Linked DNA regions of Homo sapiens: region 1 is linked to region 2. Evidence: promoter capture Hi-C in human tissues and cell types (Jung and others, 2019). All regions are on one chromosome and are shown on one strand. Each heading gives the region's core, a stretch centred on a gene start or on the middle of the fragment in contact. The rest is flanking DNA. Distances are from core to core; before and after follow the strand shown. Region 1 overlaps ST7 (suppression of tumorigenicity 7). Region 2 holds the start of TES (testin LIM domain protein).

Region 1 (2,700 bases), core at 131-2,630, 900 kb before region 2:
CCATCCCTGCATCCCTGGTATGAAACCCACTTGTTCATGGTGAATTATCTTTTTGGACATGCTGTTGGATTCAGTTAGCTAATATTTTACTGAGAATTTTTGTATCTACGTTCATCAGAGATATTGATCTGTAGTTTTATTTTTTTGTTATATTGTTTCCTGGTTTGGGCATTAGGGTGATACTGGCTTCACAGAATAATTTAGGGAGGATTCCTTCTTTATTTTTTGGAATAGGGTCAATAGGATTGGTACCAATTCTTCTTTGAATGTCTGATAGAATTCAGCTGTGAGTCTATCTGGTCCTGGACTTTTTTTTGTTGGTAACTTTTTAATTACCATTTCAATCTGTTCAGACTTTCAATTTCTTCCTAGTTTAATTTAGGATGGTTGTATATTTCCAGGAATTCATCCATCTCTTCTAGGTTTTCTAGTTTATGTGTGTAAAGGGGTTCAAAGTAGCCTTGAATTATCTTTTGTATTTCTGTGGTATCAGTTGTAATATCTCCTATTTCGTTTCTAATTGAGCTTATTTGGATCTTCTCTCTTCTTCTCTTGCTTAATCTCACCAATGGTCTATCAATTTTATTCATCTCTTCAAAAGAATTGGCATAGAAGGGACATACTTAAGGTAATAAAAGCCATCTCTGACAAACCCCCAGCCAACATTATACTGAACGAGGAAAAGTTGAAAGCATTTACCCTGAGAACAGGACAAGGATGCCCACTTTCACCACTTCTATTCAACATAGTACTGGAAATCCTAGCCACAGCAATCAGACAAGAGAAAGAAATAAAGGGCATTCAAATCGGTAAAGAGGAAGTCAAACTGTCAAGTGTTTGCTGATGACATGATCATATACCTAGAAAACCCTAAAGACTCATCCAAAAAGCTCCCAGGAGTGGTAAATGAATTCAGCAAAGTTTTAGGATACAAAATTAATGTACGCAAATTAGTAGCCCTGCTATACACCAACAGCGACCAAGCTGAGAAGCAAATGAAGAACTCAACCACTTTTACAGTAGCTGTAAAAATAAAAAAATAAAAAAATACTTAGGAATACACTTAACCAAGGAGGTGAAAAACCTCTACAAGGAAAACTACAAAACACTGCTGAAAGAAATCACAGATAACACAAACAAATGGAAACACATCCCATGCTCATGGATGGGTAGAATCAACATTGAGAAAATGACCATACTGCCGAAAGCAATCTACAAATTCAATGCAATTCCCATCAAAATACCACCATCATTATTCACAGAACTAGAAAAAAACAACCAAAAAATTCATATGGAACCTAAAAAGAGCCTGCATAGCCAAAGCAAAACTAAGCAAAAAGAACAAATCTGGAGATTCACATTACCTGACTTCAAACTATACTATAAGGCCACAGTCACCAAAACAGCTTGGTACTAGTATAAAAACAGGCATATAGACCTATGAAACAGAATGAAGAACCCAGAAATAAAGCCAAATACTTACAGTCGACTGATCTTGGACAAAGCACAGCAAAAATATAAAGTGTGGAAAAGACACCCTATTCAACAAATGGTGCTGGGATAATTGGCAAGTCACATGAGTAAGAATGAAACTAGATCCTCATCGCTCACCTTATACAAAAATCACCTCAAGATGAATCAAAGACTTAAATCTAAGACCTGATACCATAAAAGTTCTAGAAGATAACATTGGAAAAACCCTTCTAGACATTGGCTTAGGCAAAGACTTCATGAACAAGAACCCAAAAGCAAGTGCAACAAAAAAAAAGATAAATAGATGGGACTTAATTAAACTAAAAAGCTTCTGCACAGCAAAAGAAATAATCAGCAGAATTAACAGACACCCCACAGAGTGGCAGAAAATCTTCATAATCTACACATCTGACAAAGGACTAATATCCTGAATCTACAAGGATTTCAAATAAATCAGCAAGAAAGAAAAAAATCCCTTCAAAAAGTGGGCTAAGGGCCGGGTGCAGTGGCTGACGTCTACAATCCCAGAACTTTGGGAGGCCGAGGCAGGTGGGTCACCTGAGGTCAGAAGTTGGCCAGACCAGCCTGGCCAACATGGTGAAACCCTGTCTCTAACAAACACAAAAAATTAGCCAGGCATGGTGGCACATGCCTGTAATCCCAGCTACTTGGGAGGCAGAGGCAGGAGAATTGCTTGAACCCAGGAGGCAGAGGTTGCAGTGAGCCGAGATTGTGCCATTGCACTCCAGCCTGGGCAACAAGAGTGAAAATTCTGTCTCAAAAAAAAAAAAAAAAAAAAAAAAAAGAAGTGGGCTAAGGACATGAATAATAGATAATTCTCAAAAGAAGATATACGAATGGCCAATAAACATGAAAAAAATGCTCAACATCACTAATGATCAGGGAAATGCAAATCAAAACCACAATGCAGCACCACTTCACCCCTGCAAGAATGACCATAATAAAAAGTAAAAAAATAATAGATATGGGTATGGATGTGGTGAAAAGGGAATACTTTTACACTGCTGGTGGGAATGTAAACTAGTACAACCACTATGGAAAACACTGGAGATTCCTTAAAGAACTAAAAGTACATCTACCATTGGATCCAGCAATCCCACTACCAGGTACCTACCCAGAGGCAAAGAAGTCACTATACAAAAAAGATACTTGTACACGCATGTTTATAGCAGCACAATTTGCAATAGCAAAAATATGGAACCAGTC
Region 2 (2,700 bases), core at 56-2,555:
CTGCAGTCCTAACACAATATTTTGTATCCATTTTCAAAAATCCAGTTCTGGGCATAAAATAGAATTAATGCTCAAGTCAAAAACTTTGTGTTTAGAAGATAAAATATTAGGAACCATGAGTATGAGAAAAACAAAAACTGTTTTCTGTATTTTTCCCTTCCTCTCTCTGCAAAACTTCTCTATTTGATAAGGGACAGCTAGCTTAAATTTACCACAAAGTAAAACATGAGCAAATCCCCTGGAACGAGGAGAACTTTCGCACAGGGCAATTCACTCGAATGTGACATCAGCATTCCTTCTGAGTCATAGTCTGGTCCCCACCCTTTTCTCCCAGGCGACACCAGGCTCCGCATAACCCGGGAGTGGCTCAGGTAGGGCCGTCGGTTCCAGTGCCTGCGAGGCAGCAGCCAAGCTGAAAATGTCTCCCTGCGCTGAGACGCTGGTGACAACCGCCCTTTGGGACTACCTGCCAAACAAGGAGAATGCGCTCTTTGACAGATAATTCCCTAAGAGGGAGGCACTGCCTCGGTCGGTAGACAAGTAATGAATGACCGAAAAAAAAATCACATTAGAAGTTATCACCAGCACGGGTGCGAAGGCAGTGCATTAAATCAACACTCATTTTAGAGCGCCCCAGACAGCCCAGCCGGAAGGGAGGAGATCAGAGCTGTCAAAGCACAGCAGAGCCCCAAACCACAAAGGCTTAATGAAATTCAACTTCCTGAGCCAGGAAGTGTCACGGTCTCGCCCGCACTCGCCCTAAGCTCGTCCTTTCCTTTTGAGGAGGCACAGGCAGAGCTGAAACATCTTAAGTAAAGTTTCCAACACCTACAACCACTGGGATTCCGTGAGACTGGAGAGAAGAGTCCCGCGCCCGCCCTCGCTCGCGCTTCCAATTCTGTCGCTCCCGAGTGTGGGGAGCTGGCGGGGCCGCCGAGCACCTCCTCTACCCAGGGGGCCAGGTCCCTGGGCCCGGGGCACCGCAGACCCAGAGCCGGGCTCACACCGGGGGGCCCGCGAGCCCCACCCACCTCGGCACCTCCGGCCGCCGCGCGCCGCGCGACCCGCGCAGGTGAAGCAGCCGCCGCCCGCCACGAGCGCCCCCCTACCTTCTTCACTTTGTTTTCCAGGTCCATGTTAACGCGTCCTATGGGTCCCCTCCTCCTCCTATCCGGGATCCCACGGCCGGGTTCAGCTGGCCTCCGGCTCCGCTGCGAACACGGGAAACCTGCGGAACTCCCGCGGCGCCGCTCAACAGCCACTCGCCCGGCGCCGTCGAACTTCCGCCGCCCAGTCCGCCGCAGCGGGCCTGCGGCCCGGACCCGGGAACAAAGGGGGCCGGGCAGCCAATGGCAGCCGGGCAGCTCCGGGCCGCCGCCAATCACCGAGCGCCGCACGCACCTTCGCGGCCCGAGCGCGGCGCTGGCAAGGTGAGAGGCGGGGCGGCGTCCGAGGCGGCGCCCTGCTGGGCAAGCTCAGTGACCCTGACCTGGTCTCCGAAGGGATTCTCTGGGCGTCCACGGGCCGGCTTCTAAAGAGCTGGGATCCCCAGCCTCCCTCTAGCTGAAGATGGAGAAGAACTTTTTCCATTTGGCAATTTGTACCTGTGTTTGCCCAGGACTTTTTATTTGGGTCAAGGGGAATAGTTATCCCAATACTAACTTCTCAGTTTATTTTCAGGGTAAAGAGAGAAAAAAAAGAGAGAGAGAGAGATTGTAGGGATCGTTAGGGATTCCTGTGATGGACCTTGGGCACTAAATTCAATATTGCGTTGTGGAGATGCCCTTTCCTCAATTGCTTTTTTCCACAATCCCAAATACTGTCAAGAAACCGTATCTTACATCCCTAAAGTCAGCGAAGATTCTTAGATTGTTTTCTGAGCATTGGGTTGTTCAAAAGTAAAGATGATGTGAATCACTTCAGAAACAGGTTGTGTCATTCCTTTGGAAGCAGAGGGTTGCCCTTTGTCTCTGTGTGAGATGGTGCTAGGCCTATCGCGTGCTCAGGCTTTGATGAAGCAGAGTCATCACATTGGTGCACCAAAGCTGAATTCATTTCATGCCCTAATTCAGGAGCAATTGCATCTAATACCATCAGATTGGTCGGTCTGGAAGGGAGCCTAACGATTACTTAGTCTAGCTTCCTCACTTTGCAGGGAACTGAGGACTCCAGAGGTGCAGGGACCTGCCTAATGTCTTAGCCTGTTGGGGACAGAGGCATTGCTCATGAATCTAAACAACTTCTCAAAGATGTTTGGGGCTGGAAGCACAGCATGTTGACTAAGGAAAAAGAGCAGTCAATTTTCTTCAATTTGTGGTTATGGCAAAAAATAACATTGCCCAGACAGCAGGTGACCTAATTTGGCACCTACTTTTAAAAATAACAAAACAATATAAAACAAACAAACAAAAATTCCCTAATAATGCAGATATTCAGGTCCAGATGTATGTCTGCCTTGCCTCGAGAAATTTGGTAGCTAAAAATATCCAAAATTCATTTTAGCCAATACTTGCAACTCTGCTTACTTGATTATTTGTTAACACAGAGCATTGATTTATAATGTGCATGTTTCCTTTATCCTATTAAGAATTAAAACTGAAATTACCAAAATGAGTTATGCATTTTTCTTTTCAGCTGATGTAAAACTTTTCTGTGTCATTTTCCCAAACCACCTTGAAAGGTGTGGGCCCCTGCAAAGTC

The links. The method cuts DNA at HindIII sites, captures the fragments that hold promoters and counts their contacts. A contact is called where the count stands out against the background at its distance.
Region 1: a contact is called between a fragment that was not itself captured here and the fragment with the promoter of TES in region 2, in 1 of the 25 tissues and cell types used here (dorsolateral prefrontal cortex).

Annotation. Positions count from the first base shown.
Region 1 is chr7:117,107,182-117,109,881 of GRCh38, reverse strand. All of the region lies in intron 2 of ST7 (suppression of tumorigenicity 7), which reads right to left. It also overlaps a transcript of ST7-AS2 not described here. Among named protein-coding and RNA genes, the nearest start is that of ST7-AS2, 37 kb to the left of the region's middle. The HindIII fragment of the contact is 5,678 bases long and covers 1-2,700 here.
Region 2 is chr7:116,209,144-116,211,843 of GRCh38, reverse strand. It overlaps TES (testin LIM domain protein), which reads right to left and starts at 1,305. Exons shown (of 7, transcript NM_015641.4): 1 at 1,110-1,305. The coding sequence starts at 1,136. RefSeq lists an enhancer at 377-616 and silencers at 977-1,066, 1,207-1,406, 1,161-1,423, 1,457-1,586. The HindIII fragment of the contact is 11,100 bases long and covers 1-2,700 here.